Regions from separate parts of the Homo sapiens genome. Here region 1 is linked to region 2. Evidence: promoter capture Hi-C in 16 types of primary human blood cells and fetal thymus (Javierre and others, 2016). All regions are on one chromosome and are shown on one strand. Each heading gives the region's core, a stretch centred on a gene start or on the middle of the fragment in contact. The rest is flanking DNA. Distances are from core to core; before and after follow the strand shown. Region 1 overlaps DNAJA1 (DnaJ heat shock protein family (Hsp40) member A1). Region 2 holds the start of NOL6 (nucleolar protein 6).

Evidence for each region. The method cuts DNA at HindIII sites, captures the fragments that hold promoters and counts their contacts. A CHiCAGO score of 5 or more calls a contact.
Region 1: a contact is called between a fragment that was not itself captured here and the fragment with the promoter of NOL6 in region 2, in 2 of 17 cell types (naive B cells and naive CD8 T cells). The highest score is 6.1, in naive B cells.

What each region holds. Positions count from the first base shown.
Region 1 is chr9:33,027,025-33,033,740 of GRCh38, reverse strand. DNAJA1 (DnaJ heat shock protein family (Hsp40) member A1) reads right to left here. Exons shown (of 9, transcript NM_001539.4): 4 at 3,752-3,856; 5 at 3,074-3,301. Among named protein-coding and RNA genes, the nearest start is that of DNAJA1, 5.1 kb to the right of the region's middle. The HindIII fragment of the contact is 755 bases long and covers 4,229-4,983 here.
Region 2 is chr9:33,470,727-33,477,755 of GRCh38, reverse strand. It overlaps NOL6 (nucleolar protein 6), which reads left to right and starts at 3,832. Exons shown (of 26, transcript NM_022917.5): 1 at 3,832-3,967; 2 at 5,344-5,550; 3 at 5,636-5,752. The coding sequence starts at 3,914. LOC107987061 (a long non-coding RNA gene) reads right to left here and starts at 3,616. Exons shown (of 3, transcript XR_001746648.3): 1 at 3,559-3,616. RefSeq lists an enhancer at 3,881-4,220. The HindIII fragment of the contact is 3,045 bases long and covers 2,211-5,255 here.

The DNA of each region.
Region 1 (6,716 bases), core at 3,357-5,856, 440 kb after region 2:
GTAGTATTTATATATAAAACTAAAAAAATTTTAAATCTATAATCTTCTCTTGAGATAGGATCTTGCTCTGTTGCCTAGGCTGGAGTGCAGTGGCACAAACATGGCTCACTGCAGCCTCCATCTCCTGGGCTCAAGTGATCCTCCCACCTCAGCCTCCCGAGTAGCCAGGACCACAGACCAGCTAATTTTTGAATTTTTTTTTTTTTAATAGAGATGGGGGTTCTCATGTCGCTCAGGCTGGTCTTGAACTACTGGGCTCAAGGGATCCTGCCTCGGCATCCTATAGTGTTCGGATTACAGACCTGAGCCCCTGTGCCTGAAAATCCGTATTTTAAAGAACTATTCAGTATAGTCCCCTTAAAAAAAGGGTAATTATACTTTGAGAGGCCGAGTCAGGAGGATACCCTGAGGATAGCACCCTGGAGCACAGGAGTTCCAGACCTTGTCTCATTTAAATTAAACAAGCAAACAAAACAATCAGTGCTAGACACTCCCTTAGCCCATGTGGTCCGTAAAATACAAGGGGAGGAGTATTTTCTAACAGGGCAAAAAAACACGCCTTTTTTTTTTTTTTTAAACTGAGACTTCGTGCCCCTCACCTCTGACCCACATATTTTAGTTCAGTAAGGGTTTGGGCAACGTCTCTTAGAACATAACTCATGTAAGAAAACCTGTGTTTGTAGAGTATTACACCAAAGCAGTTATCTCCTGATTATTTCCCAAGATCACTCTGGTTACCTAACAGAGCAATCATGTTTCACCTTTACGTATGGAAAATATTAATCCTGTATAAACAGAGCCAACAGTACAATGAATTCCTACATATCCATCCAATTTGGCTTCAGCAGTTACTAACTCATGACTAATATTTCATGTATTACACCCCTACGCATGCCCCCCACATATACTTTCAAGCAAACTCCAACTATATCCATTAACCCACAAATACTTCAGTACGTACCTCTTAAATAAGGACTTAAAGCGCTATCAGTATCATACACTGACAAAATTAAACAATCTGTCTTTAATCGTGTATTGAGGCAAAATAACTTGTTATGCTAGGGAAGCAATTAAACTCAGCTAGGTTTTCCTGAATACAGAGTAAGAGTAGGCACAGCACAAATGCCTTCACTTGCTATATAGTTAGGGCATTAATTTCAAGTTCTCACTTACAGTCCATTGTTGATAGGTTCTTGGAAATTGCTTTAAATGAAATGACACATAACAAGACCAATTTTTTTCCCCTCAGCTGTGTTACAGTGACATGACATTATTTGAGGACCTGCATGACATTATTTGAGGTCATTCTGCTAGAAGTCCCAGTTTCCAAGAACCTATCAACAACGTTAAGACTTACTCTGTATGCTATTGGTATCAAGAACACCTCAAAGTATAAACCTTAGGCATGGGCCCACTAAGGGGTAAACACAGATTTATTAAGTTCAACAACTGGCCAAGGAAACTTATTTTTACCTTTCAATGTACTACATTCTTGGGTGGAACCCTGGGGGTCAGAGAGGCCAGTATCATGAGTCACATGATAGAATCCTATTGCAGCCACTTATGTTAATGTAGATTTGTATATTAATATGGAAATATGTTCAAATATTAACAGTTCCAGATTGGTATCATACCACAGTACAGTATAATAGTAGACCCATTTATAAACAGCAAAATCTGAAAAGAGATTACCATAATGTTGACTTAAGTTTCCTTCTGGGGTTATATACATTTCTTAAAATTTCTGCAGTGTATTGCTGTAATACATTTTAAAATGTTTTTGCAAGTTGACAAGAGTAAAATTTAAAAATTGACAAATCAATCAAATCCCGAGAATACAAAAAAAAGGTTATATAGTTATTTCTAAATCTGGAGCCCAATGGGTTAGGGAAGTGTCAAGTCTAAAAAAATGAAAGGTAGTCTATCAAATCAATTAACGGAGCATTTAAATATAATAGATGGGCAAGTAAGCCAATTAAGTGGGCCAATACGCTTATTTAAACTAGCCCAGGCCAGGTATGGTGGCACACACCTGTAATCCCAGCATTTTAGGAGGCCAAGGCAGGCAGATCATTTGAGGTCAAGAGTTTGAGACCAGCCTAACATGGTGAAACCCCATCTCTACTAAAAATACAAAAAAAATTAGCCAGGTGTGGTGGTGCACACCTGTAGTCCCAGCTACCTGGGAAGCTGGGGCAGGAGAATCGCTTGAACCCAGGAGGCAGAGGTTAGAGTGAGCCAAGATCGCATCACTGCACTCAAGCCTGGGCAACAGAGCAAGACTCTACCTCAGAAAAAAACAAACAAACAAAAACATGCCCATTGGTTTAAAAAATAAACATGAGGCGGGGTGCGGTAGCTCATGCCTGTAATCCCAGCACTTTGGGAGGCCGAGGCAGGTCATCACCTGAGGTCAAGTGTTCGAGATCAGCCTGGCCAACATGGTGAAACCCCGTCTCTACTAAAAATACAAAACATTAGCCGGGCATGGTGCTGGGTGCCTGTAATCCCAGGTACTTGGGAGGCTGAGGCAGAAGAACTGCTTGAACCCGGGAGGCAGAGGTTGCAATGAGCTGAGATCGTGCCATTGCACACTCCAGCCTGGGAAACAAGAGCGAAACTCCGTCTCCAAAAAAACCATGAATTTTTATGAGACCCAATTCTTCACCTAACTCCCCTTTCAAATCCTTAAAAGTATGCCTATCCCTTGATCTAGTAACTCCTAATTAAGAATGTGTACAATTCTAATGTTTTAAAAGATGGAAGAACTATGGTTTAACAGGAGAGAATTAAGTTTGGAACACTATTCAATCATTTACAGGACCACAGATTTCAAAAGATGATCCTGTTATATTAAATGAGGAGATTCCTAATATATTCTGTATTAGTAATATACCAATGTGCAAAATTATGTCTGGATAAAAGAACATTATTTACTAAGCTGCTAAGAGTTATTTCTGATTGATAGGATCATATATAACCTAATTAAGAATGATTTTTAAACAATTATAAAATGTTAATAATAAATCTGCCACAGCATTCAAGACTTCAGAATAAGTAACTCAGAACTCACCTTTGTCAATATGAACTTCTAAAATTTTCTTCTCTCGAACTATCTTCCTTCCGTTGCAGCTTTTACATCTATCTTTAGGACTGATCCGCTCCCCATGGCCCTGGCACTCCATGCACACAGACTGAATTTGCTGAACCATTCCAGGTCCTATCTGATGAATTCTTATTTGCATTCCAGTACCTCGGCAATTGGGACAGCACTCTACTGCTCCTTTCTTACCTCCTCTACCTAAATTTAAAAAGAAAATTAAATAATGTATGAATTAGTAGTGTATACAGTAGTAAATGTTTTAAGAAGACAATTCCTAAATGCTATACTTTTAATATTTTCGAAGCCTGATGGAATGCTACCCTCTGAATGTACAACTGATGAGATCATTCCAATGAGTTTCATTCTTATTAGAACACACTTTCCAATAAATTTTACTTATTACAAAAAAGATACCAAACTAGCTTGATCCCAACTGTATTTAAAATATACACAGAAAAAAGTGCTGATATTTCTTTAGGTGGGAGGTTTTCAGTTGGTTTTCTTCATATCTGCCCTCTCCTCCCCCAAAATCTAGGTAGTGTACATGAATCAATTTTACATATCTATCTAGAAGTCTTAGCTCCATTTTCAGGTGTCATATTAAAGGTGCTTAAAAACAAAACAAAACAAAACAAAAAAACACCGTACCTTCACATTTGTCACAAATCACATTCTTTTGCAGAGCCAGTTTTCTTGTTGCACCATTATATAAGTCTTCTAGGGTTACTGAGAGCTGATGTACAACATTTTTACCTAAAACAAAATATTTCTCATTGCAAATCTGTTTAAGATGCTGGATCTTATTTGTGCTAAAGGCACTATAAAGAATGTGGCAAAGAATAATAAAAGATGAGCCTCACAGGGTACATCTGTTGACTACCTACTATATACACAGAATGTTCACGTTATCACAGATGATCCTCAAACTGTGATGTAATCACAGATGAGGGAAAATCAGGTCAGAGATTAAATATTTGCTTAAGGGCACAGACGTGGCCATCTTGGAAATATGGTAAGCAAAAGCATTACCTTCAAAGTCACTTGAGAAAAACCAATGTTATTTAAAAGGGCACATTTCACAATAATCCAAACATTCATTTCTGTCACAATATATTTTTTGAAGCTTTCACTTCGTACCGTATTGAGCAACATGGCCAATTACTTCATCCAAAAATTCTGTAGCACAGTAAATTCTCATTAATCAAGATTGGCCAGGGAAGCTGATGTATTTATTGAGTCACCACAGAAGAGTATCAATTTCTACTTCTTCCTGATTTAGTAGAAAACAGCCCATTTACTGCTGGGCCAGCACTGGTTGTTTTGAAGGCCAAATTTCTCATACCTTTTATAATAGCATTGCCCAACAGAACTTTCTGCAGTGATAAATGTTTTATATCTGTTCTGTCCAACGTAGCAGCCACCAATCACATGTGCTTATTGAGCATGTAAATGTGGCCATTTAGACTAAGAAACCGTATTTTTGTTTTTGTCTTAAATTAATGGAGCCACACATGGCCAGTGGCTACTAAGGAGTGCCTTACTTCACTTAAATCAGAATAGGAAATGGAAGGTCAAGATCTCATAAGGACACTGAGGTTAGAAGTATGAAGTCACCTGCTAGTAAGTTAGTAAGTTCCTAACTAGTGGTCCTTCCACAAGGACTTATTCACAACAATATTATTGCCTTTCCACCAACTGAAAAAAGTTCTCAAACTCGTTTCTGTACAATATGCCTAATGAACATTTTAACTTTCTAATCAAGCATGAAATACCATTAATTATGTCCTTCTGCTTATAGTTCCACCTTTAGTTTTGGCACGCTAAAATCTAGCTGCCCTTATTTTGAACAGTGTTGAGTATAAGGAAGGAAAAATAAAGCTTCTAGAGCTTGATGAAGCGCATTTCCCCAGAAATAACCTCTCAATATGATCATAAGCCACATAAAAGAGCTTGCCAATGTTAACCTGCAGGTTCTTTGTAAGGTAAGTGAAAAACCACCACTACTTTTTTGTGGACAAATTCTAACAATTTACTAAGCAAGTCATTTGGATTGTGGACTTTCTTTTTAAGGAGTTTAAGTATCTTAATAAAAACATAATCCTTTCCTTGAAGATCTTTAAAGAAAAACTGAATAAACAATTTCCCAAATCTTTCTGAACCTTAAGAAGCTCAAAGTGAAATTTAATGGCTTGGCCATTCATTCTAAAACTGGTTCTGCTCATCAGCCCTTATTTGTATACACTATACTGGAAATAAAGTGAGACTGATTTCTCTTGAACATTTTACTCCTATAAGCAGTATTTCTAGAGCCCATAGGCCACTTTCCTGATAAACATATTAAATACATAATTTTGACACAATAAAGCTGAAACAAGAATAGATAGATGGCAGGCAACGAACCAGTTTTCAGCCCTGGCTCTGTTGGCTTGCTATATGAGCTTGAAGAAGTTTTAGGTTTCTGAACTTTAACTTACTCCCATTTGAAAAAGGCCACTGTACCTACCATCAAATTCCTTTGGGGAGTGAGGGAACACCAAATAAGATCTGTAAAAAGGGCTTGGAAAATTATATTGCTATATACTTTGTCTTTTTTTTTTTTTTTTTTTTTTTTTGAGACAAGAGTCTCGCTGTGTTGCTCAGGCTGGAGTGTAATTGGGCGATCTCAGCTCACTGCAACCTCCACCTCCCGGGTTCAAGCGACTCTCCTGCTTCAGCCCTCCTGAGTAACTGGGATTACAGGCACGCACCACCATGCCTGGCTAATTTTTGGATTTTTTTGGGTTTTTTGTGACAGAGATTCACTCTTGTTGCCCAGGCTGGAGTGCAGTGGCGTGACCTCCGTTCGCTGCAACCTCTGCCTCCAGGGTTCAAGCGATTCTCCTGCCTCAGCCTCCAGAGGAGCTGGGATTGCAGATGCCCACCACCACGCCCAGCTAATTCTGTAGTTTTGTAGAGATGGGGTTTCACCATCTTGGCCAGGCTGGTCTCGAACCCTGACCTCAGTGATCCACCCACCTCGGCCTCCCAAAGTGCTGGGATTACAGAATGAGCCACAGCACGCGGCCTGTTCTCATAATTTGTTTGATAATATCTAAGATTTTTGGAAGCAGTCATTTGCTACCACTCTGTTGGCTATTTTTTAGGCCCCTTAAATCTCATTTTAAAAAAAGCGACACCACTGGCTGGGCATGGTGGCTCACACCTGTAATCCCAGCACTCTGGGAGGCCAAGGCAGGTGGATCACCACCTGAGGTTTGCAGTTCAAGACCAGCGTGACCAACATGGTGAAACCCCATCTCTACTAAAAATACAAAATTAGCCGGGTTTGGTGGCACATGCCTGTAATCCCAGCTACTTGGGAGGCTGAGGCAGGAGAATCGCTTGAACCCGGGAGGTGGAGGTTGCTGTGAGCTGAGACCACGCCATGGCTCTCCAGCCTGGGCAATAAGAGGGAAACTCCGTCTCAAGAAAAAAAAAAAAAAAACCACAACAAAAAAACACGACACCATAAATCAGAGGCAATTTGTGGTCAGTTTGCAACATTATACCAACATGTAAACAAGCATTTAAAATGGGTGATTTCTCAAAGATCTGCTCTGACCAACAGCTAACT
Region 2 (7,029 bases), core at 2,583-5,082:
GAGAATTGCTTGAACCCCGGAGGTGGAAGAGGTTGCAGTAAGCTGAGATCTTGCCACTGCACTCCAGCCTGGGCGACAGGGCAACACTCTGTCTCAGAAAAAAAAAAAAAAAAAAAAAAGAAAAAAGAAAATAAAGGAAGGAGGGTGGGAGGGAGGGAGGGAGAAAGAAAGAGAAAACATAACAGCCTGGGCGTGGTGGCTCACGCCTGTAATCCCAGTACTCTGGGAGGCAGAGGAGGGCAGATCACTTGAGGACAGGGGTTCAAGACCAGTCTGGCCAACATGGTGGCCTACTCTACTAAAAATGCAAAAATTAGCCAGGTGTGGTGGTATGTGGCTGTCATCCCAGCTACTCCAGAGGCTGAGGCAGGAGAATCACTTAAACTTGGGAGGTGGAAGTTGCAGTAAGCTGAGATCTTGCCACTGCACTGCAGCCTGCGTGACAGAGAAAGACTCCATCTCAAAAAAAAAAAAAAAAAAAGAAAGAAAACATATCTATATTTGTTTAGAGAACATATTTTAGGACTTTAGTTAAGACCTTGGCCGGGCACAGTGGCTCAAGCCTGTAATCCTAGCACTTCGGGAGGCCAAGGTGGGAGGATCACTTGAGTCCAGGAATTTGAGACCAGCCTGGGCAACATGGTGAAATCCTGTCTCTACAAAAAATTAGTCGAGTGTGTGGTGCACGCCTGTGGTCCCAGCTAGCCAGGAAGCTGGGGTGGGAGGATGGTTTGAGTCCAGAGGTGATATTTATGCTGAGAGGTGAAAGATGAAAAGGAGAAAAAGCCAAGAAAGCAAAATTCCAAATGGAACAAACAGCTTGGGTGAAGTCCCGGAGTTAGGAAAGAACTTAATACAACGAAGGAACTGAAAGAAAGCTGATGTTGCTGTAGCTCAGGGAACCAGGGGTGGAGTAGCAAGAAAAATGATGAGGGCCAGGCAGTGGCCGATGCCTGTAATCCCAGCATTTTCGAAGGCCGAGGCCGGCAGATTCCTTGCGCTCAGGAGTTTGAAACCAGCCTGGGCAACATGGCAAAAGTCTACACAGAAATACAGAAATTAGCCAGGCATGGTGGTGCGCGTGTGTAGTCTCAATTACTCAGGAGGCTGAGGTGTGATTCCACCACTGTATTCTAGCCTAGGCAACAGAGCGAGAACTTGCCCCTCTTCTCCCACAAAAAAGATGGAATAGCTGGGCAAGGTGGCTCACCCCTGTAATCCCAGCACTTTTGGAGGCTGAGGTGAGCGGATCACTTGAGGTCAGGAGTTTGAGACCAGCCTAGCCAACATGGTGAAACCTTGTCTTTACTAAAAATACAAAAATTAGCCGGGTGTGGTGGCATGTGCCTGTAGTCCCAGCTACTCTACTAGGGAGGCTGAGGCAAGAGAATCGCTTGAATCTGGGAGGCGGAGGTTGCAGTGATCTAAGATTGCACCTCTGCACTCCAGCCTGGGTGACAGAGCAAGACTCTGTCGCAAAAAAAAAAAAATAAAATAAAATAAAAAGAAGGAATAGCAAGTGAAGGGCCATATTGATCATGACTTTATGGAAGTTGAAGTTTGTGTTTAGTTTTAAGTACAATTGGAAGACACTGATGAGTTTTTAAAAGGAAGTGACATGATAGAATTTCTATTTTAGAAAACTAATTCTGGCAGCTGTGTGGAAAATGAATTGAAAATGGACATACCGCTCTTCTGAAACTTCCTTAAAAAGCTATCGCATAGCCGGGCGCGGTGGCTCACGCCTGTAATCCTAGCACTTTCAGAGGCCAAGGCGGGTGGATCATGAGGTCAGGAGATCAAGACCATCCTGGCTAACACGGTGAAACCCCGTCTCTACTAAAAAATACAAAAAATTAGCCGGGCGTGGTGGCGGGCGCCTGTAGTCCCAGCTACTTGGCAGGCTGAGGCAGGAGAATCACTTGAACCCGGGAGGTGGAGCTTGCAGTGAGCCGAGATCGTGCCACTGCACTCCGGCCTGGGCGACAGAGTGAGACTCTGTCTCAAAAAATAAATAAATAAATAAATAATAAATAATAAAAAAGCTATTGTATAAACTGACCTGCACTGTTTGAAGTCAGAATAGTGATTGTTGGGGGCAGAGTTACTAGAGGGCAGCATGAGGGGAGATTCTGAAGGTGCAGGAAATGTTCTGCTTATTTTCTGGGAGCTGACTATATGAGTATGTTTGGTTTGTTAGTATTCAAGCTTTACACTTGGGATATGTACATTTTTCCTTATGTATATTGTACTTCAATACAAATTTTTAGACTGGGCACGGTGGCTCACCCCTGTAATCCCAGCATTTTGGGAGACTGAGGAGGGCAGATCACTTGAGGCCAGAGTTTGAGATCAGGCTGGCCATCATGGTGAAACTCTGTCTCTACTAAAAATACAAAAATTGGCCTGGTGTGTTGGCGCATGCCTGTAATCCCAGCTACTTGGGAAGCTGAGCCACAATAATCAATTGAACCAGGAGGTGGATGTTGCAGTAAGCTGAGATCGACCCACTGCACTCTAGCCTGGGCAACAGAGGGACACTCACTCTCTCTCAAAAAAAAAAAAAAAAAAAAAAAAAAAAAATATATATATATATATATATATATATATATATATATATATTATATGGTAATAGTTGAATTTAGATGATCCTGCATTAGGAAATAAAATGAAACATATAACGGTTATTACTGGAATAACTGACAAAATTTAAAGATGGAATTTGTATACTAGTATTGAATCACGATTAAATTTCCTTAATTTCATAATCGGGCTGTGCTTACATAAGAGGTAGTCCTTGATCTTAGTAGATACATACCTAAGTATTTAGGGAGATGTGTGATTGGTTTTCAAATGGTTTTGCAAAATAATATGTAAATACATAGGTAAAGATAAACTTGGCAAAATAGTAACACTAAGTGAATCTAGGTGAAGAGTATATGCGCATTCATTATATTATTCTTGCAACATTTGTTTTAAATTTTTAATAGTTTAAAAATAGGCCGGGAGCAGTGGCTCAGGCCTGTAATCCCAGCATTTCGGGAGGCCAAGGTGGGCGGGTCACTGGCAGTCAGGAGTTTGAGACCAGCCTAGGCAACATGAGGAAACCCCATCTCTAGTGAAAATACAAAAATTAGACGGGTGTGATGGTACCTGCCTGTAATCCCAGCTCCTCAGGAGGCTGAGGCACGAGAATCGCTTGAGCCTGGGAGAGGGAGGATGCAGGGAGCTGAGATCGTGCCACTGCACTCCAGCCTGGGCGACAGAGCAAGACTACTCCAAAAATAAATAAATAAATAAATAAATAAATAAATAAATAAATAAATAAAAATAACTAAATTACTTGAAATTGTAATAAGCTAAGTAATAAGTAAAAACTGGAGAAAAGTCATAACAATAATTCGGGAACAAGATGATGTGACGGGCTAAACCTGGCAGTGAAGACACAGAAAAATGAATAAATTCAAGGTATGTTTTGGAGGTAGAACTGACAAGATTTGTTAACTGATAAGGTGTAGCAAATAAAGAAAAAGGGAGGAATAACTGCTGTAAACAAACCTGACCAAAAGGAACAAACTAGCTCCGCCCTTCCCGATTGCAGCCACGCGAAGGAAGTGAGGAAAAGAAAGCAAAGGCCTAGCTACGGGCAGGCTTCCGTTCTAGCGTCGCGAAGAGGCCGTAAAGCACAGAAACCCGTTTGTCCCCTCCCCTAATGGGCGGGCCTTGAGACTGCCCGGCCAATGGCAAGCGAGTAATCGACTGATAATCCAATAGCTCTGGAGTGGGTGGAGTCCTGAGGAATTGGGGTGGGCTGGACTTGGGCCTGGAGTTAGGCATTTCCGCCCACGTGGGAAGCTATGAGGTATAGACCCGGCTAGAATCTGAAGTGCGGGAGAGTGCTGGACCCTGAGTGATGGGGCCGGCGCCAGCTGGAGAGCAGCTTCGCGGAGCGACTGGAGAGCCAGAGGTGGGTTGAGCCATCGGGGAGGAACAGAGGCTCAATGTGCGCTCCCTTGGCTGCAGGGCCCGAGATGGCGTGATCTGACAGCTTGCGGGTGAAAGCCATGCCGGCGGCCCATTCTGGAGGATGTTTCCAGCCAGTGGCACTGAGACAGGGCTTGCTAGGGGTGATGGAACCTGGCAGTATTTGGTTAGAAGCAGTGAAGCCGGTAGAGCCTCTGCTCTCTTCTGGAGCTCTGCACCTCAAAGTTGAAGAGACCCACACTTGGGTCGTTTCTTTTATTTGGTGGTCCTTGACGATAAGCGGGATCTTCCTCCACAGAATTTGTGTCCAGTTCTGTGCTCCCCGCTGTAGCGGAGGGCATACGGTGCCTCTCCTGGAGCGCTCCAGTAAGGCTCTCTGGGATGAGAGGCATCGTGGAGCGGATGGGCCCACGGCTGTAGGGGAAAAGGTTTGGGATCCTGCACGCTTGCCTTTGAAGCCTGCTCATAGTACGGGTGTACCAGTTGTGGAACCTCGAGTGAATAGTGGGACTTCAAGTGTCTTCAAGAATTATTTTGAGGATTTAATGACTTGCTAAATGTGTCCTCTGGGGTCCAGTCGGTTCTAGCTCCTTCCATCAGTGAGTATTTAGTGTAAACTGAGGCAGTCAGGTCTTCCTAGAGGAGGTGGAACCTGGCAGGATTTGGTTGGAGCGAGAATGGGAAAGACATTTGAGAAGTCCCAGGCCTATATCAGCAGAAGAGGAAACTTCCTGAAAATACAAGGGGCCTGGGCATTACTTAGGGCAGGGCTCAGTCAGCTTCTTTTTTTTTTTTTTTTTTTTGACAGTCTTGCTCTGTTGCCCAGGCTAGAATGCAATGGCACGATCTCGGCTCACTTCAGCCTCTGCCTCCTGGGTTCAAGTGATTTTCCTGCCTCAGTCTCCCGCGTAGCTGAGATTACAGGCATGTGCCACCACACCTGGCTAATTTTTGTATTTTTAATAGAGACGGAGTTTCCCCATGTTGGCCAGGCTGATTTCGAACTCCTGACTTCAGCTGATCCGCCCAGCTCCACCTCCCAAACTGCTGGGATTACAGGCGTCAGCCACCGTGTCCAGCCTGGGCCCAGTCAGCTTCTATCACTACCAATTCCAAACAGAGCTCCATGCTTGTGGTGTCAGGTAGACAGGAGAGCTCTTAACTCAAGGAATTTTCGGCTCAGCGCTCAGTGATGTTCATCCAAGTAACGATTCTCCTGAGTTTTACAAAATCTGACTCCTACTCAAAAGAGGGACAGAGCAGGTGAAGCTTTTACCCACAACCTATCATGGTGGCACTTTAGGCAGCAGATGCTAGATACCTATTACCTCAAAATGGCTTCTCCCTCACTGGCCACAGGTGATGGAACCAGCCCTGGAAGGCACAGGCAAAGAGGGGAAGAAAGCATCCTCCAGGAAGCGTACATTGGCTGAACCTCCAGCGAAGGGCCTCCTGCAGCCAGTGAAGCTCAGCAGGGCAGAACTGTACAAGGAGCCTACCAATGAGGAGCTTAATCGCCTTCGGGAGACTGAGATCTTGTTCCACTCCAGCTTGCTTCGTTTACAGGTACTGTTGAGTGTCTGCAGCTTTTGTTCGAGGTGTGTACCTGGGACCCTGAGGCTGATGGACTGTCTTCTACCCTCTCTTACAGGTAGAGGAGCTACTAAAGGAAGTAAGGCTGTCAGAGAAGAAGAAGGATCGGATTGATGCCTTCCTACGGGAGGTCAACCAGCGGGTTGTGAGGGTGCCCTCAGTCCCTGAGACAGAGGTAAGCAAGTGGCCTGGGGAACTGGGAAGCCCAAGAGAGACCTCCAGTGGGGGTATATCAAACAGGGGCCTTGCTGTTACTCTGTTTAAGGGTTGGGGTGCAGGGAGCTCATTCTCACAGCAAGGAAGCTTAGCTGGGAGCGTGGTCATTTGTGTATTCATTCAGCAAGTACTTCCATGCCTTGCAGTATTTGTGTTCTTAGGATATATCAGTAAATAATAGCCTATGCTGTAATGCTGAGGTTATAGTTAATAGATAAGCATAACAGGTAAACTCTATGGCAATGTTAGAATGTGGTAAACACTGGAAAAAGGAAAAAGTAGGACGAGCAATGTAAGGGGATTGGGAGTATTAGAGGATGGGAGTGGTTTACAAGTTTAAAGGGGGTGTTCACAAAGTAGGCCTTATTGAAGTGACATTTGTGTAAAGACTTGAAGTAGGTGAGTCAGCTATATAGATATCTAAGGGAATAAAAGCATTCCAGGAAGGGGGAACAGCCAGTACAAAGGCACAAAGGCAGGAATGTTCCAGTTACATTCCTTGGAATGAATGAGGAATACAGAAGGAGATGAGTTCAGAAAGGTGATGGGGAAAAGTAGCATATCATGCAGGGCATTGTGTCCCGAAGTAGGGACTTTGGCTGTTGCTCTGGGTGAGATGGGGAGCCACTGCTGGATTTTATTTTGCAGAACAGTGATGCCCTCTAACTTTTAAAAGTTCACGTTTTTGTTTTTGTTTTTGAGACGAAGTCTCGCTCTTGTCCTCCACACTGGAGTGCAATGGCGCGATCTCAGTTCACTGCAGCCTCCACCTCTCGGGTTCAAGCTATTCTCCTGCCTCAGCCTCCCGAGTAGCTGGGATTATCACACCCGGCTAATTTTTTTGGTATTTTTAGTAGAGAGGGGGTTTCACCATGTTGGCCAGGTTAGTTTTGAACTCCTGACCTCAGGTAATTTGCTCTCCTTGGCCTTCCAAAGTGCTGGGATTACAGGTGTGAGCCACCGTGCCCAGCCTAAAACGTTCACTTTTCCAGCCTTAAAAAGTTTAGTTTTAGAAAAATTTACTCCGGCTGTTGTGTCAAAAGTAGAATCGAGAGGGACAATGATGAGATTAGAGAGACCAGTTAGGAACTAGTCTAGGCACTGAGAAATGGTGGCTCCTCAAACTAGGGAGGAAAGTAGTGAAGTGATCCATTTCTTTCTTTTTTTTTTTTTTTTTTAAATCTTTTCCTCTCTCTGTTTTAAAAAAGTTTTCTTTTTAGAGAAGTGATCCATTTC